4 separate regions of the Homo sapiens genome follow, and all the other regions are linked to region 1. Evidence: promoter capture Hi-C in 16 types of primary human blood cells and fetal thymus (Javierre and others, 2016). All regions are on one chromosome and are shown on one strand. The core of a region is centred on a gene start or on the middle of the fragment in contact, and the rest is flanking DNA. Distances in the headings are between cores, read along the strand shown. Region 1 holds the start of XPOT (exportin for tRNA). Region 2 overlaps SRGAP1 (SLIT-ROBO Rho GTPase activating protein 1). Region 3 overlaps RXYLT1 (ribitol xylosyltransferase 1). Region 4 overlaps LEMD3 (LEM domain containing 3).

The links. The method cuts DNA at HindIII sites, captures the fragments that hold promoters and counts their contacts. A CHiCAGO score of 5 or more calls a contact.
Region 2: a fragment that was not itself captured here is called in contact with the fragment with the promoter of XPOT in region 1 in 3 of 17 cell types (naive CD8 T cells, megakaryocytes and non-activated CD4 T cells); the score reaches 7.1 in naive CD8 T cells.
Region 3: a fragment that was not itself captured here is called in contact with the fragment with the promoter of XPOT in region 1 in 12 of 17 cell types (monocytes, naive CD8 T cells, activated CD4 T cells and 9 more); the score reaches 7.3 in monocytes.
Region 4: a contact is called between a fragment that was not itself captured here and the fragment with the promoter of XPOT in region 1, in 1 of 17 cell types (total CD4 T cells). The highest score is 5.0, in total CD4 T cells.

The regions. Positions count from the first base shown.
Region 1 is chr12:64,401,012-64,406,540 of GRCh38, forward strand. XPOT (exportin for tRNA) reads left to right here and starts at 3,381. Exons shown (of 25, transcript NM_007235.6): 1 at 3,381-3,793. RefSeq lists enhancers at 2,956-3,005, 4,103-4,979 and silencers at 3,396-3,555, 3,886-3,995. The HindIII fragment of the contact is 10,073 bases long and covers 1-5,057 here.
Region 2 is chr12:63,850,661-63,855,884 of GRCh38, forward strand. The region is part of intron 1 of SRGAP1 (SLIT-ROBO Rho GTPase activating protein 1); the gene reads left to right. Among named protein-coding and RNA genes, the nearest start is that of SRGAP1, 8.6 kb to the left of the region's middle. The HindIII fragment of the contact is 232 bases long and covers 3,342-3,573 here.
Region 3 is chr12:63,798,681-63,803,969 of GRCh38, forward strand. RXYLT1 (ribitol xylosyltransferase 1) reads left to right here. Exons shown (of 6, transcript NM_014254.3): 4 at 3,411-3,725. Among named protein-coding and RNA genes, the nearest start is that of RXYLT1-AS1, 21 kb to the right of the region's middle. The HindIII fragment of the contact is 767 bases long and covers 3,217-3,983 here.
Region 4 is chr12:65,176,333-65,181,991 of GRCh38, forward strand. All of the region lies in intron 1 of LEMD3 (LEM domain containing 3), which reads left to right. Among named protein-coding and RNA genes, the nearest start is that of LEMD3, 9.6 kb to the left of the region's middle. The HindIII fragment of the contact is 2,224 bases long and covers 3,039-5,262 here.

The DNA.
Region 1 (5,529 bases), core at 2,131-4,630:
TGCAGTGGCGCAATCTCGGCTCACTGCAACCTCCCAGGTTCATGCAATTCTCCTGCCTCAGCTTCCCAAGTAACTGGGACTACAGGCATGTGCCACCATGCCCGGCTAATTTTTTTTTTGTATTTTTAGTAGAGACGTGATTTTACTGTGTTGGCCAGGCTGGTCTCGATCTCTTGACCTTGTGATCCATCTGCCTCAGCCTCCCAAAGTGCCGGGATTACAGGCATGAGCCACCGCGCCTAGCCTCTTTATTTGTTCTGAAATAATATGAGTTTACAAAGTTGAAAGAGATTTCTACAATTCTAGGTATTTCAACTACCATAAACGAAAGAGCTAATGTTAGTAGATAAACTGTAGATAAACTGAAGATAGGCTTTGTATAACATTCAACATAAGAAGTAGCCATAAAATGAATTTACAAACAAAACAGCAAGTAAAGACATCTATAATACGATAGATTGAATTGCCATATTCTTTAGGATGAGGCCTGGAATATGCTGAACATACAGATTGCAGAGGCACTCAGCCCAAGATTAGTATTGGGCCTTCATACTCCACAGTTGATCATCACAGCTAATATAAGAATTCATGCAATGATTCAGTTATTGAGTTGAAACTAGCAGGCTGGCACTGTGCTAGACTCGAAAGATATACTGAAATAGGTAGGGCAGAAATCCTAGCCTGAGATTTTTTTTCTTAGAAATAACATTCATAGCAACTTGTGAAAAAAGCCATGCCTGTGTCTCCAGCAGCAGTGAAACAAGATGGTGGATCCCCTCACCATTAACCCCCATATGGAAAGGGTATATGTAATTCAGAAGGGATGTGTATTATGTCTGTTCTCACACTGCTATAAAGGAATGCCTGGGACTGGGTAATTTATAAAGGAAAGAGATTTAATTGACTCACAGTACCTCAGGGCTGAGGAGGCCTCAGGAAACTTACAATCATGGCAGAAGGGGAAGCAAACACATCATTCTTCACATGGTGGCAGGGGAGAGAAGAATGAGTGCCCAGCAAAGGGGGAAGCCCCTTATAAAACCATCAGATCTCATGAAAACTCACTATTACGAGAACAGGGTGGGGGAAACCAACCCCATGATTCAATTATCTCCACCTGATCCCGCCCATGACATGAGGGGATTATGGGAATTACAATTCAAGATGAGATTTGGGTGGAGACACAGCCAAACCACGTCAGGATGTGTAGACAACTGAAGTACAATAACATCAAGGCTGTTTTGACGTAAGGGCAGAATTTACAGTATGTGCTCTCACACAACTTGAAATCTTAAAGGCCTTCCGGGAACAGGGTTAATCAGAAACCAACATGGCAGATTAGTACCAAAGATGGAGTTACTTTAGCTTCCAGATTCCACCCATCAATCCAGCTCTTACAGTTTCACTCGCCCTCCTATTTGGAGATGGTCCCTGAGCTTTTAGGGAGGGTGGTTTCATATGATATAGCTTTAGCAGCAGCGCCCTAGCAGTGGAAAACAGATTGGGCCCAGAGAGATTCCAAATGAGGGAGATTCACAGGCTTTGTTGAATTATCTCTAGTCTTGAGAATACCATGACTTTGGTTTTCTCAGAAGTAAAACAAGAGATACTTCTTGTTTATAATTAATTTGAATAATTAATAATTTGAATAGTAGAAACATAATGCATGCAAGGATTACAATCAAAAGAAAATTTGTATGCCAGAACAACAAAGAACCTATTTCGTTGGGAAGCCAACTGAGAGCAGCGTGAAGAAAATTAAGGCCTGACACAGGGACTCACACTCGTAATTCCAACACTTTGGGAAGCTGAGGTGGGAGGTTCATTTGAGCCTGGGAGTTAGAGATCAGCCTGGGCAACAGAGCAAGTCCCCATCTCTACAAAAACAAACAAAAATAGCCAGGTATGATGGTATGCACCCGTAGTCCCAGCTCCTTGGGCGGCTGAGGCAGGAGGATTGCTTGAGCCCAGGAGGTCAAGGCTGCAGTGAGCTATGACCACTCTACTCCAGACTGGGTAACAGAGCGAGACCCTTTCTCTAAAAACAAGAAAAAATTAAAACCCAGTTCTCCTTTAGCGACATCTTGTAGCCACTAGCCTGACATTTTAAACACATAAATTAGAAACATGATGCAAGAGTGATTCAAGGTATTTTATATAGGAAATGCCTGGTGTAGTGTCTTGGACAGCTAAATAAAGGTAGCTGTTAAAACATTAGTTTTATTCTATGCTCTTACCATTCCTCCCTCTCCAAGTTTTGTTTGTAGTCTGTGGCAGCAACCTAGTCTGTATTTAGTACACATTGAATAATCAACAATGAAATGTAAATATTGAGCACATTGTGTGTCAAACACATGTATTAACTCAAACCTCACAGAAACCCTTTGAGGTCGGTACTATTAACAATCCCCATTTTACATACGAGTAAACTGAAGCATGGATAGACTAAAGTAAAGTGCCTGAGGTCAACTAGTGAGGAGGCGGAGTGGCAGTCAAGTCGAGGCAGCCTAAGCCTACACTGCCTCTATGTTGCATTAATAAATTAATAAATCTGTGACCAAATAAATGAAGTGACATTTAGTAGCATCGAAAGATCCCGTGAGTAGGACTTCCTAAGAATGCTCTCCTTCTTTTCATGGACAAAATTTTAGTCTGTTTAAAATAAATTTTGGACCGGACACCGTGGCTCACGCCTGTAATCCCAGTACTTTGGGAGGCCGAGGCAGGTGATCACTTGAGGTCAGGAGTTCGAGATCAGCCTGTCCAACATGGTGCAACCCTGTCTCTACGAAAAATACAAAAATTAGCTGGGTATGGTGGCGCGCGCCTGTCATCCCAGCTACTCAGGAGGCTGATGCAGGAGAACTGCTTGAACCCCGGAGGCGGAGGTTGCAGTGAGCCAAGATCTCGCCATTGCACCCCATCCTGGGCGACAGAGCGAGACTCCGTCTCAAAGAATAAATAAATAAATTAATTAATTAATTTTGAAAACCTGTCAGCACTCATCAGAGCTTTACACTGCTGTACTCGGGACACTTGGGGCCGTAGACAAGCAATTAAATTGACTCACACGTGGTTAGAACCACGTCATCCTGATTCGTGAATCCGTACTCTCAACTACTAGAAGCCCTTTGTGGAATGCTCGGGGCGAACCTGACGCTTGAGCTCTGACACCACGCAGACACAGCCGGGGATTTAGGAGCTGGGTAGGGACTCCTGGGCCGGATGCCTCATCCCGGCATGCACCTCAAGCCCCGGTGACCACGCCTTCCGGCGAGCGCCAGGGAGCGCGTGTGCGCCTCGCCGCCCGGAAGCGCCGGCCGCTCCCTGCATGCTGGGAGTTGTAGGCCTCCGGCGTCAGCCCGCGGGCTGCCGCCCGCACTCTCCAAGAGACTGCTGGCGCCGGCGCCCGCCCGCGCGGCACCGACGCGGGGAGCGCGCTTCGCGCTGACTCAGCGGCGGCGGCGGCTGCGGCGGCGGCGGCGGCGTTAGCCGGCCCTCGCGCTCTTTCCCTTCCTGGGGCGCCGACCCCGCCCGCTTGCTTGCTTGCTTGCTTGCCTGCCTGCCTGCCTGCCCGGCGCCACGCAAGAGAAGGTGCCAGGGGACGCAGAGCGACTAGAGGCGCGCGGTCCCGGCCAGCACCGTCTCTGGCGTTGTAGCTGCGGCCGTGGCGGAGGACTACGGCGACAAGGACGAGGGCCGCTCTCCCAGCTCTCTGCGTGCCGCGCCGCTCCGCTCCGCTGGCTGACCATCTGGAGTGCAGGCTGGGAGGCGGGATGGAGTGATAGGGAAGGTGACTCGGGGCTCGGGGGCAGCGGGACCGGGACCAGGTTTGGTCCGCGTGAGGCTTCGAGGAAGTTGGCCGGGGCGGACCGGCCCGGGGGAGTCCCGACGCCAGGGAGGGTGCAGGCTTGGGACCCTCTATGGCGGTGCACCCCCTGGCTGGGCGGACCGGGTGGGGGTGGGTACGAGCCGGGGCCGCCGCCGAGGAGCGCGTCCCGAGTGCGTGGCCGGCGGTTGCTTGGTGTTTCATCACCCGAATTGCCACGAGGCTTCCTTTAGGGGAGGGATCGGGGGAGGGATGGGAGCAAGGCTAGCAGAGGAGGGTCGGCATCGCCTGTGGTTCCGAAGCCCGTTAGTCATCGTTGTAGCGTTATCAACTGTGGAGACCTCAAACTTGATTCTTCCCCCACCCCTGGACAAAAAGGAAAAGTGTTATTTCTGTGCAGTAATTGGCCAGCACGGACGCTCCATTTCTTCTCAAACCTTCCTCACCATCCTGCAGGACTAGAGAAGCATGAGGTTTCCCTGTAACCAGAAAAACGAGTACTTTTTGAAAGTGCTAATTAGTTGTGGCGGGCGGGGGTTGGGGGAGAGTTACGTTTTATTAAACCGACTTGTCAGCGTGGTGTTAAAAGGCTGGAAAGATTCAGTCGTAGTATTTGAAACAGTCTTCAGTAGGTGTAGAGGAATTTTTCCAAATTGTTTGATTCTTAATGGCTATCCAGGAAAAGTTAAGGCTTAATATTTTAAGTATGTTGCTTGCCTTCCCCCAAGAACCTTTGCAAGATGCATAATTGTTTACCGTATTGAAACATTTTTTGGGGTTTTGTTGTTGTTGTTTTGAGACGGAGTCTCGCTCGGTCGCCCAGGCTGCAGTGCAGTGGTGCCATCTCGGCTCACTGCAACCTCTGCCTCCCAGGTTCAAGTGATTCTGCAGCCTCAGCCTCCCGAGTAGCTCTATTACAGGTGCGCCCCGCCACACCTGGCTACTTTTTGTATTTTTCGTAGAGATGGAGTTTCACCGTGTTAGCCAGGATGGTCTCGATCTCTTGACCTCGCGATCCGCCCGCCTCAGCCTCCCAAAGTGCTGGGATTACAGGCGTGAGCCACCGCGCCCGGCCTTCCACTGCATATTGATCGTCCAAATGCCTTCTATGTGGGGGATTCTTTCTGTAGTGACAACTGTTAACTAGTTTGTTTCCTTGGGTTTATTGGCTATGTTTTCCTTAGGGCCACTTCATTTTTCTCCCGATAGCTTCAGAGTGACTTGACCAAGCTTAAGCACTTTTTCTTTTTTTTGACACAGTGTCTCACTCTGTCGCCCAGGCGGGAGTGCAATGACACGATCTCCGCTCACTGCAACCTCCCCCTCCCGGGTTCATGCGAGTCTTCTGCCTCAGCCTCCTGGGTAGCTGGGATTACAGGCGCAGGCCACCATGCCCAGCTAATTTTTGTATTTTTAGTAGAGACGGCGTTTCACCGTGTTGGTCAGGCTGGTCTCGAACTCCTGACCTCGTGATCCGCCCACCTCGGCCTCCCAAAATGCTGGGATTACAGGCGTGAGCCACCGTGCCCAGCCAGCAATTTTTTTTAGATGGAGTTTCGCTCTCGTTGACCAGGCTGGAGTGCGGTGGCGCCATCTCAGCTCACTGCAACCTCCGCCTCCCGGGTTCAAGCGATTCTCCTGCCTCAGCCTCCCGAATAGCTGGGATTGCAGGCATGTGCCACCACACCCGGCTAATTTTT
Region 2 (5,224 bases), core at 2,208-4,707, 550 kb before region 1:
TGAGCTCCTGCCTCAGCCTCCCAAAGTGCTGGGATAATTGGCATGAGCCACCATGCCCGGCCAAGGAGAGACAGCTTAAAAAATTTTATTCATGCTACCTATTTTCACTTCAATTCAAACAACTAACAAAATAAAGAAAAGGGAATAAATTGTTTGTCTAATTAGTCTATTTATGCTTTAGCAGTTTGAAGGCAGAATTTTGGATTAGAGGATGGGCATGGTAGCTCATACCTGTAATCAATCCTAGCACTTTGGGAGGCCGAGGCGGGTGGATTGCTTGAGCCCAGGAGTTTGAGACCAGCCTTGGCAACATGGTGAAATCTCGTCTCTACTAAAAACACAAAAATTAGCCGGGTGTGGTAGCATGTATCTATAATCCCAGCTACTCTGGAGGCTGAGGCACAAGAATCACTTGAACCCAGAAGGCAGAGGTTGCAGTGAGCTGAGATTGTGCCACTGCACTCCAGCCTGGGCCACAGAGCGAGACTCCATCTCAGAAAAAAAGAAGTTTGGTTTAGAGACAGTTATGTAAAGGTAATTTTGTCAGCTCAGAACTACTTTCTAATTTATTGACAGCATTATCTACTCTCCCCTGTTGATATGTTAGACTGGGAAGAAACAGAACATGGTATTTAAAACCAGGAACTCTGGGCCAAGCACGGTGGCTCACACCTGTAATCTCAGCACTTTGGGAGGCAGAGATGGAAGGATCATTTGAGACCAGGAGTTCGAGACCAGCCTGGTCAACATGGCGAGACACCATCTCTAATTTTTAAAAAATAAATAAATAATAAAAAACCAGGAACTTCGGTGTTAGCAGTCTAGCCTTGTCACTGATTAGTTGTGTGATCTCTAAGAGTCAATTTCTTCATCTGTAAAATAGGGATAATAGTAGTACTTACCTTGTTGTCTTCTTTTCTTTCTTTCTTTCTTTTTTTTTTTTTTTAGACCGAGTCTTGCTCTGTCACCCAGGCTGGAGTGCAGTGGCGGGACTCTCAGGTTCAAGTGATCCTCCCACATCAGCCTCCCAAGTAGCTAGGATTACAGGCATGCACCCCCATGCCCAGCTAATTTTTTTGTATTTTTGGTAGAGACAGAGTTTTACTGTGTTGGCCAGGCTGGTCTCGAACTCCTGACCTCAAGCAATCCACCTGCCTCAGCTTCCCCAAGTGCTGGGATTACAGGTGTGAGCCACTGCATCTGGCCTCCTTGTTGTCTTTGTGAGATTGCAGTGAGGAAAACATTTATCACAGGCTTGGCACATAATAGTCAACAAATGTTAGTCATTGTTATCTCTTTAATGCTGGTTTTCTTTCTATCTACTGTATTTATTTATTTATTTTTGAGACAGGGTCTCGCTCTGTTGCTCAGGCTGGAGCACAGTGGCCCAATCTCGGCTCAGCTCACTGCAGCCTCAACCTCCCCAGGCTCAGGTGATCCTGCCACCTCAGCCTCCTGTGTAGCTGGGACTATAGGCGCCTGCCATCACGCCTGATTTTTGTATTTTTTGTAGAGACGGGTTTTGGCCATGTTGCCCAGGCTGGTTTCAAACTCCCAAACTCAAGTGATCCACCTGCTTGAGCCTTGGGCCTCCCAAAGTGCTGGGATTACAGGCATGAGCCACCTCGCCCAGCATGTTGTTCTATCTGCTGTATCTTGTTGCATTCTGATTTAGATAGGTTTTTTGAAATTCAAATACGTAATCACTAGTCTTTTTACCAGAATGAATTCCAAAGTGGACTAATCTTGAATTATCCTAAGAGAGTGCCATGTGCTTTTAGAGTGGAGTGGGTTTCATGGTGGAATTTAAAAGGGAAATAGAATAGACAATGCATACAGATTCCCAGCTCATTATAAGGTGGATTTTATATTTTGTCATTATTTTTCATGCAAGTGCAAGTAACAAAGCCTAAAAGCACATTCCTGGCCCTGGGCTGCCACGTATTTAAGAATAACTTTTGTTTTAAATTGTCTCTACCTCTGTTCAGTGATGCTGTATGGAAAATGAAAACTGTAGTTCAGTCAGTGGATTTGACTTACCTGTGGGTGAAAAAGATTCTTATGACATCAGATAAAGTCACTGCCTTAATCTCATAGTCTTGAGAAAAGTATTTTCTTTTAAAATCAATGTAGGAATGAAAATTCCACTTATGACTGCTAATTTGCTTCTGTTTCACTAGAAAGCACTTTGATATTAGAAATCATTGTCTGTGCATCTCCCACACGCTTTAGTACAGGGCCTCATTAAACATTTATTACATGAGAAGAGGAATAATTTGGAATAATAATTCCTTTATACTGCAAATAAGCATGGTGATCATTCAGAATTATCTAGGATGTCCAAACAAGTATTACCGCAAAATTTTTTTTTTTTTTGAGATGGAGTTTCACTCTTGTTGCCCAGGCTGGAGTGCAATGGCAAGATCTTGGCTCACTGCAACCTCCGTTTCCTGGGTTCAAGCAATTCTCCTGCCTCAGACTCATGAGTAGCTGGGAGTACAGGCACCCGCCACCATGCCCGGCTAATTTTTTGTATTTTTAGGAGACACGGGGTTTCACCATGTTGGCCAGGCTGGTCTCGAACTCCTGACATCAGGTGATCCACCCACCTCGGCCTCCCAAAGTGCTGGGATTACAGGTGTGAGCCACCGCACCCGGCCTATTACCACAAAATTTTAAGTTGAATTCAAATGGTTTATAATTTCTTTAGAAAGTCACTCAGCTGGAAACATTCTAAATGTCCAACAGTGGGGAATGGTTAACTAAATTCCACTGGTAAATTGTTAACTAACTGTATACATGCAATGTTATGCAGTCTTTACCACTGGTTTTTGAAGAACATTTTATGATGTGGTTAATTGTTTTTATAATAATTGAAGAAAGACTGTAAAATGGAAGGTGAAATAATAATTAAAGATAATCATAACCAGAGCTAACAGTATTGAGCACCTACAGTGAGCCAGTCACCATTGCTTTGCATGGGCACCATGAGGGATACACTGAGTTGTGTATGTGCAAAACAAGCTGCAATGCACGGGAGGAGGAATTTCTGCTTAACTTTCCTATTTAGTATAGTTAGTACTTTCTGTGTCTTTGGGCCACAGTATACCTGGCCTTTGGTAAATTTTCAGGCTAAATGTAAGAATCTGACTTTCAACTCCACCCTCCTTGAGTACAGGAGTGGGCAAGGTAAATCCAAGCAAAGCTTAGCCTCTGGATTGAACCTCTGATAATCAGATTTGTCCATGGGACAACCAAATTTCTCATTTGTTTACAACTCATTTATATACTTTGGTTTTTCCTTGCTTTGAGCTTAGTTGGCATGTGTGTTTGGGAGAGCAAGCTTGCTTCTTTGCTTGCTTGCTTTGTGAAATATACATACAAACAGGTACAGAAAATGATTATTTACAGTTTAAAGAATAGTAGCTTTGAATACTTCAGTGCTAGCCACCCAGGTTAAGAAAGAAACATTACCAGTGCCTTAGAAACCCCCATGGAATGTCCCTTTCCTAGCAAATCTCCCTTCATTCCCACTGCCACTCTTAGTATTAATAATTCCTTTGTTTTCTGTAAAGCTTTACTGTCATTTTGTAGCTTTCTTTATAGTTTTGATTAGGATGCATTCATATATCAAGAATATAGGGCCATTTGAACACTTTCTGAATTTTTAATAATATTGATGAATTGGTGTAAATTTTAAAAATTGGAATAGTAGTGTTTTGGCATGTATAACAAATCTTTATCTTTTAAAGATACATGCTGAGTAATAATGGATGAAATTAGGACATCTGGGATTTTCTTGAAAGTAATCTTGGGGAGGGAAGAAATACGTAGGGATACAGATAAAATACAAAATGAATTGATAATCCGTGGGTGCACGAGGTTAATTATATTATTCTCTTTATTTTTGCATATGCTTGAAATTTTCCCTAATAAAAAATTAATAATATGTATTCTTATGACTTCAATTTTATACTCAATATTATTATGTTAAGATTAATCTACCTTAATGTATGCAACTATAATTTCACTGCCACACTGTGTGCTTTCTCTGGTGCATAATATTCCAGTGCATAAAAAATACTACAAGCTATTGATTCATTCTATATGACATTTGAATTATTTATAGTTTTTTTGCTATCATGAATAGTAATAGTGTATAAAATGCTGTAGGTGTCTCCTGATGTATACGTACAAGAAGAGTTTCTCTAGGTGTACTTGCTGGGTCACTGGGAATGTGCATGTTCATCTTTACCAGGTAATGTCAAACCTTTCTCTTATTAGCAGGGGAGGAGAGTTCCACAGCCTGAAAAACACTTAGCATTGAGCAATGTGCTAGTTAAAGAAGAGGCTAAGCTGTTATAATAAAGAGAACCCCCCAAACAGTGACTTTAAACTAGAGAGATTTTTTTCTTTCTCGGGTAACAGACTGGAGATGTCCAATCCAGGCCAGCAGGACATCTTTGCCCCATTATTAAGTTTCCTTCCATCTTGTGGTTCTGCCATTACCTAGATAAATGAACTTGTCTACTCTTTGAAACCAGATTTTAAGTATTTCAGTGTTTCAGCTTGTAGGAAGGAAAATCAGCCTTAAGGAGCACATGTCCACGGTTTTCAAACCCAGCCCTTACTAGTACACATAATTTCCACTTACTTAACCAGTGGGAACTTAGTTACATGGCCACATCTTGCTGCAAGGGAAGCTGGGAAATATAGTCTCTCTGGATGGCCCTGTTTCTAATTATAACTTGATGGTCACAGCATGAAAGAAGAGATTTTGGTGAACAAGCAGCAGTCAACATGAAAAATGGTGTTTTTTTTTTTTTTTTTTTTTTTTTTTTTTTTGAGGGAGAGTCTCACTCTATCAGCCAGGCTAGGGTGCAGTGGCACCATCTCTATGGCTCACTGCAACCTCCACCTCCCAAGTTCAGGCAATTCTCATGCCTCAGCTTCCCAAGTAGGGACTACAGGCGTGCACCACCACACCCGGCTGATTTTTGTATTTTTTAGTAGAGACGGAGTTCCACCATGTTGCCCAGGCTGGTCTTGAACTCCTGGGCTCAAGTGATTGCCCTCCTTGGCCTTCCAAAGTGCTGGGATTACAGGCGTGAGCCACCATGCCCAGCCAGAATTATTTTCTCTTCCTTTTTATTTTTAATTTTTGTGGGTACACAGTAGGTGTGTATATCTTATTGATTTGTGAGTTTTGTTTTGTTTTAGTATG
Region 3 (5,289 bases), core at 2,350-4,849, 600 kb before region 1:
AATATCAGGACTTTGTGAAGCTGGGTTTTCCATGGTTGCCGTGATAAAATGCACGCACTGCACAAAAATGAGTGTGGAACAGGAAATGACACTGACAGTGTCCACTGATTCCAAGGTTTGAGAAGTTCTATAGTGCTCAACAGGTGCACACATGCTATTAAATATTTGTGATTAGTTAAGAATGAAATAGGAATATGAGTTTTTCTTTCAGTGTCTGTGTATTTTTTTAAGTCACTTTTAAGCTGTTAGGACATAGATACTTATTAGGTTGTTTAGACCTAATGACTTTAAAAATTGAACTGTTAAGCATTTCTTTTAGCTTGGGAGACACTGAAAAATTTACAGGAACACTAAAGGTGCTAAGAATCTCTGACCTACACCTTGGCTTCGCAGTATTGACCCCATGGCTTTCACCATTACCAAAACACAGGGAGTTGTGGACATCCAAGACCAAGACAGTATAAATGTGCCCTTGAATGAATCATACTTCATTTTGTTAATTTGTGTGGATCACTAAAATTAGAAAGATATTCCTTTCACATGAAAGTTACATTTGAGAATAGCTTCATATATTTTATTTTAATACATTGACTAAAACCTACTTTGTTTTTCTTTTCTTTTCTTTTTTTTTTTTTTTTTTTTTTGAGACAACGTTTCATTGTTACCCAGGCTGAAGTGCAGTGGCGTGATCTCAGCTCACTGCAGCCTTGACTTCCTGGGCTCAAGTGATCCTCCTGCCTCAGCCTGCTGAGTAGCTGCACCACCATGCCCAGCTAATTTTTGTATTTTTTGTAGAGATGGGTTTTCACCATATTGTGTAGGCTGGTCTCGAACTCCTGGACTCAAGCGATCCGCCTACCTCAGTCAACTAAAGTGCTGGGATTACAGGCATGAGCCACCACACCCAGCTGTATGGCACTCTGAAATTGTTTGGGCACATGATATATATGGACTTAATGTCAAATAACCAAATTTGAGTCTGATCTGTACCATTTCCTATCTAGTGTCAGCTAGCTTTATGCAAGTCATAGAACCTCTCTCAAGATTTCCTTTTTTTTCCTTCATAAAATTGGCCTAACATGGGGAAGGAGGACTGGAAGACTTTCTCATGCTCTTAAGAATTATACCTGCTTATATTTCTAAAAGAGAAATACAAAGTATTCGTATGCTACCAATAATAAATATTTTAAACATACCATAATTATCATCATCATTGCTAGTTTTTCTAGCCCCTCAGATTCTGCATATTGTCTTAAATTACTAGGTTATCACTGAATCATTAGTCATTGCCAGTGCTAGATACTGTCCAAGGCAAACATAGTCCTCAAAACATAGTCCTGGTCCCTGTATGTTATATAATTTTAGAATAATGTCATATAAATCATATGGTACATGCACACATAGTAAAATATATTTTTACGTTTTGTGCTTTAACTAATATCTGTTTAGTATTTGTTAACCATGGAGTTATGGAAAAACTTAAGCTCTGAAGTGAGACAGAACTTTGTTGAGAACTCGTCATTGCCATTACAAGCTGACAGCTAAAGTGCAATTTCACAAATGCCAATGAGAGAATAATGAACTCCTCAGAGTTGTTGGGGGGGTTAATGATGACCCATGCAAAGTGCTTATGTATCATGTATATAAAAGGCGTTGAACAAATGTTTTTATCCCCAGCAGTAAGAAGCAATGAAAGTAGGCTTTGGGTATATTTGTGCTGAAAATTAGATTCTATCAGGATATAAAGAAATGGTTTAAGCAAGTTGTAAAGAATCTAGGATAAGAGTGACTAATTTTAAGATGAATTAAATGGTACTTGTTCTATTTAATACATACTAGTGAAAATATTTCAATGGTACTGGTTGTTCTAGGCAGCACTTAATATGAAAAAAATGAGTTATGATACATGTCTATTCCTTTAATGAAAACTTTTTAAAAATACAGTTAAAAAGAGAGTAGGCTGAGCACAGTGGCTCATACCTGTAATCCCAGCACGTTGGAAGGCCAAGGCAGGTGAATCACTTGAGGTCAGGAGTTCAAGACCAGCCTGGCCAACATGGCAAAAACCCTGTCTCTACTAAAAATACAAAAATTAGTTGGGCATGGTGGCACGCACCTGCAGTCCCAGCTACTCAGGAGCTGAGGCACAAGAATTGCTTGAACCCAGGAGGCAGAGGCTGCTGTGAGCTGAGATCATGCCACAGCACTCCAGCCTGAGCAACAGACTGAGACTCTGTCTCAAAAAAAAAAAAAATGGTAATACAACACATTCCCATTTACTCACCATTCAAAACTAACAAATTTCAGCTCTCTGTCATATTTGCTTCAGATATTTAATTTTCCTGTTAAAAAAATTAAATACTTTCAATAAGGGTAAAGCTCCCTTTGTACTGTTTTCTAGTCCCTTTCATCTTCCTTCCTCCTCAGATACAATTGCTATCATAAATTTGATGTGGATCCTCCCATTCAAATTTTTATATTTATACTGATCCTAAATATATATGTGTAAATAATTTTTATGACTGTACTTTCAAGTTTATGTATATTTTGTGAGTGTCCTAATCCTTGCTTTTTTTAACATTATATTTTTGAGATATAACATTCATGGAATGTTTATAATGCCATTCTTCGTTTCTTAATTTGTCAGCACTTTCTCATCCATTGAGTCAGATGAAGAGTGTAATAGCAGCTCACACCATAAAAGGGTTGAGAACTACTGACTTTAAATGCCTTTCTGGTTTGAACTAAACCATTATTTTACAGAGTTCCATGCTATTCAATTATATTTCTTTGCTTAAGAGTTTAAATTCTAGCCAGCATTTATTTTCAGTGTGGTTAAAACAACAACAGAAAAAAAGGTCAGGCATGGTGGTTCATGCCTGTAATCCCAGTACTTTGGGAGACTGAGGTAGGTGGATTGCTTCAGCCAAGGAGTTCAAGACCAGCATGGGCAACATGGTGAAACCCCATCTCTACAAAAAAATACGAAAAATTACCTGTGTGTAGTGGTGCACACCCGTAGTCCCAGCTACTCGGGAGGCTGAGGTGGGAGGATCACCTGAGCCAGGGAAGTTGAGGCTGCAGTGAGCCAAGATTGCACCACTGCACTCCAGCCTGGGCCACAAGAGTTGAGACCCTGCCTCAAAAAAAAAACAAAAAAACACAAAACTATCACATTTTGTATTATCATATGCAAATTGATCTGCCTACAGCCAAAGCTTACCATTAATCTACAGCTATGCCCCATCATTCAAACTTGTTCAAAAGATTGTATTATAGAAATTTTACTTCTAGATAGAATGTGGATTAAATCTCATTGTAGATTTTGTATAAAATGATGAATTTCTGATACCACATACCTTTGTTCAGGCTTTGTTTGTCTCTTGTTTTTGTTGTGTTGTTTTTAACAGCTTCATCACTGGTCCAGCTGTAATACCAGGGTACTTCTCCGTTGATGTGAATAATGTGGTACTCATTTTAAATGGAAGAGAAAAAGCAAAGATCTTTTATGCCACCCAGTGGTTACTTTATGCACAAAATTTAGTGCAAATTCAAAAACTCCAGCATCTTGCTGTTGTTTTGCTCGGAAATGAACATTGTGATAATGAGTGGATAAACCCATTCCTCAAAAGAAATGGAGGCTTCGTGGAGCTGCTTTTCATAATATATGACAGCCCCTGGATTAATGACGTGGATGTTTTTCAGTGGCCTTTAGGAGTAGCAACGTAAGTACAAAATATGATTAAACATTTTTAGGCCCTAACACCTGAATTTCTGAACCAGGAAGACTTATTCAAAATTGTAATAAATTTAGTTCTTCTGGGATTATTGAGGCCAGGTACAGTCTTTCTCAGAGATAAAAACAGGGTGTGGTCGCATCCTTCAATAACAATTATGATGTTTTTAAGAGTATTTTATTCTTTAATGAGGAGATGAGTTACTTTTTTTCTTTTAAAACCCCAAGGCATAGAATGGATTTTTCAAGCTTATTAGGAGTGCCATAAAAATATATTTAGCAGAGAAATGGCAGATAGATTTTTTTAAAAACAATGATAGTATCTATATATAGTAAAAAAAGGCAATATTATTATATCAGGAATATACCGTACCATTGTGTTTGAGACTGGCTGAATTTATACAAATCTCTTCTATAAAAGGAGGGATTAATTAAATGATAGCTAAGGTTTCTCAAGATACAGTCTTTTAGGCCAGGCGCAGTGGCTTACTGCCTGTAATCCCAGCACTTTGGGAGGCCAACTAGGCAGATTGCTCGAGTCCAGGAGTTCAAGAGCATCCTGGGCAACATGGCAAAACCCTATCTCTAAAAAAAAAAAAAATCAAAAATTATCCGGGCATGGTGACATGGACTCCTGTATGGCGCCTCTAGTCCTAGCTACTCATGAGGTTGAGGTGGGAGGATCACTTAAGCCCAGGAGATTGAGCTGAGATTGTACCACTGCACTCTAGCCTGGGCAACAGAGTGAGATGAGACTGTCTCACCAAAAAAAAAAAAAAAAAAAAAAAAAAAAAAGATATAGTCTTTCTCCAGCTATAAAATGGAAAACATATATTTTTATCTTTCTGTTAATAGGATGTTTTTAATTAAGAGCAAGTTGACTTTAAGATAAGTTGCCACTAGTATATAAACCTCCTGAGAGCAGGGATTTTTGTCTCTTTTGTTCACTGTTCTATCCACAGAGCCTAAAACAGCACCTGCAGAGTAGGTATTCTGTATTTGTTGAGTGGATAAATTATGAAAAATCTCACTGACATGATTTTTGAATCATACATTCATTATTCATCATTCTGTCCCTGGTTGCGGGATGTGGCCTTAGACTGCTGCCTAGTTAGCGACACAGATGTCACTGGCACATCTGTGCCAGTAATGAGATGTATTCCCAAGCCTACTCCTATAACACCCTAACTCAGTAGGTTTGGGGTAAGGCCAGACAAAAAGGTTCTTGTTAAGTAAAGCCAGGTTTAAGACCCTCTTAAAAATCTATTTTTTGAGCAGAGCCTGCATTTGTAAAATGTTTTCATATAGTATAAGATGGAACCTCTTGGTAATCATGATGTTGTTGCACTAGGCCAGTATATTTCTTATATAGGTCTGTGGTTCTCAACCAGGGGCAATTTTGCCCACCGGGAGGCATTTGGCAGTGTCTGGAGACTTTTTTTTTTTTTTTTTTTTGAGACGAAGTCTTGCTCTGTCACCCCAGCTGGAGTTCAGTGGCACGATCTTGGCTCTCTGCAACCTCTGCCTCCCAGGTTCTAGCCATTCTCCTGCCT
Region 4 (5,659 bases), core at 2,901-5,400, 780 kb after region 1:
TTTTCTGAGTAAGTCATGAAATTTGTGCTTTTCTACCTTTGCACAGGTTATCCCCTTTTTTGGGAATGTTTCTTTATTTTGTAACTGTGATTCATTCTTAAACATGTCATCTCCAGATATCTCTGACTCTCCATCTTTTTACCCTAGAGTTTGGCCCATCATTTTGTGCTCAAATAAGACATTAATTGCATCCTTCATAGTATTTAGGACAAAGTATTATATTTGTGTGTCCACCATGCCAAATAGATGACAGCTCCTTTCTTTAGAGTAATATTTCTATAGGAGTAGAATACAGTGTTAAAGAGTACAAACTTTTTACTCAGTTCTGATTTTGGCTCTACTTTTTAAAGTAGACTATACTAGAGATATAATTGCCTCATACTAAAAATGAGATTGATAATACTATCTGAGGATGACTTGTATTAAGTGAGATAATGCATCTAAACTAGTGTTGTCTGGCACATGGAAATCTCTTAGTAGATGGAAGTCACATTAGTATCTTCAGCACAGATTCATTATTCAGCAAATATCTGTTGAATAAATGATCACATATCAGGTACTCAGGATATATGCACTGTTAACTGGTAGTATCTAACTCGGTAATTGGTTATCTACTTAGTATCTGGTAAGGATATATAAAAGAAATCTTATTTCTGTAGAAGCCTCCACACCACTAATAACAGTAATAGGAAATGGCTAAGAAACATACAGGATATTATGTGGTTACACACTTTTATAAAAGGGGAGAATTCACTGTAAATTCTCAAATGATCAGTCTTACATGATCAAAAGTTCTAAATTCAACATTTGGATTTTATTCTGTAGGTTGAGTAATGGCAATTCATGGAGGTTATAAAGCAGAGGACAAGCATGATCGAATTGGTCCTTTAAGAAGGATAAACAGGTGATGGTTTAGACAGTGATAGGGTTGGAGGGAAGGAGTAGGGTGATGACACCTGAAGGAGGTGGATAAGTGGGAATGGAGTTGGGCCTATGAATGAAATTCATTTGAAGAAAGACATATGGTTTTGAGTATAGAGAATAAGAGACAGATAGGAGTCAAAGATTATTCTGGCCATGAGCCTGGATGACTGAGAGAATGATAATATCATTGGAGGAATTAGAGATGTGGAAGAGGGATCTTGTTTGGGGAAAAGTGGTCTAGGGAAAATGAGTTTACTTGGGGCTTATTATTTGAGTTGTTCAAGTGAAAAATTCTTGTAGGCTCTTGTAGATACAGAATTGGAGTAAAGATGAGAGACTGGTGCTGAATGTGAGTACTAGTACTGTTTACTAAGGGAATACTTTTAAATGTTTGTTTTTTTAATGTGTTGTTGTTTTCTTTAAAATCAAGACCAGTTGTTACAAAGAAGTAACATGTTTTAATGTCATTGTCGTTTAAAAAATATTTTTACTTCTTAAAGTAGACTAGCCAAAAGGTCCCGAACTTGGTATCTAAAATGAATATGGGGAATAAGGATTTTGAAAAATAGCTGTTGCTCTCATTCTTTTTTTTTTTTTTTCAATATGAGACAGGGTCTTGCTGTGTCACCCAGGTTGGATTGCAGTGGTGTGATCATGGCTTACTGCAGCCTCAACCTCCCAGGACTCAAGCAATCCTCACAGCTCAGCCTCCTGAGTAGCTGGGACTATAGATCTGCATCACCACATCTGGCAAATTTTTTGTATTTTTTGTTGAGACAGGATCTCACTTTGTTGTCCAGGCTGGTCTTGAACTCCTGGGCTCAAGCGATCCTGTCACCTTCGCCTCCCAAAGTGCTGAGATTACAGGTGTCAGCCATAGCAGCCGGCCTATTCTCTCATTCTTGAAGAATGAAAGCTCCATGTTATGTTTGAAGTTTTACGAGTTGACTGCTTTGTAAGAAAAAAAAAAAAATCCTAGATCTATGAGAATATTCCCGTGAATGCCAGGGATTTGCATATACCAGTTTGATGATTTCAGAAATTAAAGTCTACTCTATGAAAATGTTTTTCATTTGAAAATTTTCCCTAGAATGATTTAAATTAAAAATAATGAGGAAAAACTTGTGAATCTCTACAGATATATCCACGGAGACTAGTTTGAGGATACACTGGCATAGCTATCAGAGAACCTGGGCTTCAATATTGGCCCTTCCACTTACTAGCTTTTTTTCACTAAGGCAAGTTGCTTAGCCATTGTAAACCTCAATATCCTCATATGAAAAATAGGTTAAATGAGAATGAAGTAATGTGTGTAAAGTAAAACTCATACATGGCACATAGTAATAATAATAACTAACCCTTACGTAGCATTAACTGTGTTCCAGGCACTGAGCTAAACAATTATTATTTAATCCTTATGAGGTAGGTACTTATCCCATTTTATAAGTAAATGGAGACACTGAGAAGTAACTCGCCCAGGGTCATGTAGCTAGTAAGTGAAGCGGCAGTATTTGAACTCAGACAGTGGCTCTTAACTGTTCTTCTAGATTGCCTTTTAATATGTATAAATAAGGACTTGATATATGTTCTCTACTATTATTGTCTTTATTTTCAGAAAACTGTGACAAGTATAGATTCATAAAATCCTAGAAGTGGCAGGAATAATCTATGAAACCTAACAACTTTAGGAAAAGTTGTATTCATTCAACAATTATGAATCACATGGAACTATTTATCCTTAAGGTTTTAGATTAATTAAGGGGGAGGGGGCATCTGCTATGAAGCAAACTATAATATATAATACATAGAACAATAATACAATATTAAAACTATTTCTAATTTTTAAAATATTTGCAGTCTCAAAACTGGTAGGGAAAGTGATCTTTTGATTTGTATTACCAATTACAACTTGTTCTTTCTGTTGTTCATTTTTAGGATATAAAGAACTTTTCATACATTTGATCTCCCTTTTTTGCTCCTTTTGAATAAACTTCATATTTTCCCTTTATACTCATATATGTTTTAATGGAAATGATGCATTTGATAATTTCAGGGACACTAAAATAATCATGAAAAATTATTTTCATGATTCCTAAGAGTTGGGAAGTTCTTAAAGCTTGCTTCTCCTTGCTCATTGATTATTCAATATTAACTTTCCCTATCTGAAAAATATGTTATATAAATGGAAATTTATAGCCTCAGTGCAAAGATAATTATATAGTTTGTAAGTTGTTTAAAAGAGAAGGACACCTTAAACTGTTGGAACTCTCCAAAATGTATTTGTTAATAAATAAGTACTACTAACTTGTTTGTGAAAATTTTATTACTAATGATATAATCTAAATTCGAATGAAGATATATTCTAGGGGTGGGGAGAATATCAGGAAAAATAGCTAATGCATGCTGGGCTTAATACCTAGGTGATGGGTTGATAGGTGCAGCAAACTGCCATGGCACGCGTTTACCTATGTAACAAACCTGCACATCCTGCACATGTATCCCAGAACTTAAAATAACATTTTAAAAAAGATGTATTTTAATCTTGTATTGATTATACATTAAAAATTGCTGCCATTTAATATGGGAACATAGCTTAATACTAATTGTGGAAATTGTTATAACAGTTATTTGCTTATAACTTTGGATTTTGATTTTCATATTTAGATTTATTTTTAACATAGATTTTATTTATTTTTTATTTTTTTGGAGACAGGATCTTGTTCTCTCGCCCAGGCTGGAGTGCAGTGGTGCAATATCGGCTCACTGCAGCCTCCATCTCCTAGGTTCAAGTGATTTTCCTGCCTCCACCTCCCAAGTATCTGGGATTACAGGCACATGGCACCACGCCCGGCTAATTTTTGTATTTTTTAGTAGAGATGAGGTTTCACCATGTTGGCCAGGCTGGTCTTAAACTCCTGACCTCAGGTAATCCACCTGCCTCGGCCTCTCAAAGTGCTGGGGTTACAGGTGTGCGCCACCGTGCCCTGCCCTAACATAGATTTTAAAGTGAACCAGTAACAGTATAGTTGAGCAGTAACCTTTGGATTTCACTGTTTTAATAATCTATGCTTTAAACTGCATCAGTTTATATATTATATATTATATATATAGTTAATAATATTCTTTATTAACAATATTGCCAAAATTTTTTTAAACAAGAGTTTACCAGGAAGAAAATAAGTTAGGTTTTAATAATTTATTTTGCATGTTTAATATCATTATTTAAAAAATATATTTCTTAGGAAATTAGCTCTTCAAAAAGGTTATAAAAGTTATAGTAACAGAGGTAATCTCTAAAAATAGAATAATGCATCTATCATATGGAAGCCATCATGAATTACTTTTCATATGTCTTCATTTTCTTTTATGTCAAGGTATAGTTTAAAATTATACCACTGAATTTTTCCTGGGTGCTAGATTTATTGCTCTGTGCTTTTGCACAGCTTTTTACTTAAAATGCTTTTGCAAGATGACTTCTGAATTCATCTTTACAGCTATGTTACTATCAAATGGCAAGCTAAAGTTTAAAAACAAGGCTTGGTTGTAAAACTATGCAAGAGTGTAGTTCAGCTCTCCTGAACTAATTGGGTAGTAAGTATGCACCAATTGCTGTTCTGCCCTGAATATGACATGAATAGAAAAAACCCTTTAGTAGCAAATGGATATTTTAGCACATAGCAGAAAATTAATTTTGTTTCTCAGTTAGCTCATATATATCTGAGTATGTACACAAACACACACACACACACACACAATTTTCTGACTATGGCTAATTCCTGAAAGCATGCTGTACTTACAAAGGATGCTTTTGCTCTGTAGGAATTCACCAAGGTAAAATTTTCAAAGCATATGAAGAGGATTGTTGAAATTAATTAGGAGGTGAGGGGAATCTTGGGATATCTACTTCTTCTAGCCTCTGAGCTATGGCTTGGAACCTTGGTCAGCCTTATTAAGGACTTCCTTAGTTTATAAGTGTATCTCCCATGGGATCACAAATGCTTTCTTGTTTGATTTAGTTCATTTGAAGAAACATTAAGTTTCTCCTACTCATTTATTCATTCAGTCACGCATTCACCCAGATTATTTATTGAGCACCTATACTATGTACCAGGTAATGGCAGAAGATAAGTATATATCATACCTTTTAGAACTATAGGAGTGACACTCTCCCCACGCTTTGGCTGGCATTCTCTTCTTTTTCCTAAATATTTCTGCACTAGCTAGCCTTCAGAATTGGGATTTTGTTACCATGCAACAGTGTATCAGATTTATATATTGTGACTTGGGAAACATACTTTAAAAATTAGTTTCTGTAAATTTGAGTATACCATCTGGTAAAGCTTATCACAGTGTATATATACACAAAAGAAATAGTTGGCTAATTGAAGTAATGTGTGTTGATCATTCCTTTCACCTTTTCTGTATTACCATTTTCTCAATTGGGAATTCTACCTTTAAAAACCACACAATTTTAATAAATGTAGGTTTTATTTTTTGCAGGTTTTTAGGAGTAATTTTTAAAAAAGGAAGAGACATGAAGAATGAATTTGCCAAAAATGAAAATGTTATAAAATCTGAACATTTATGATTATGGTTCAAGATGTTCTAGAAATATTCTTATCCTTTTGACAGAAGTGTTTTGTTTTTTTTTTTTAATTTCATCTCTAAATGTCCCGTCTTTCAGATTTTAAAGCCTTAGGTGAGAAGAGCAAACATTTATTGAGAATTTTCAATG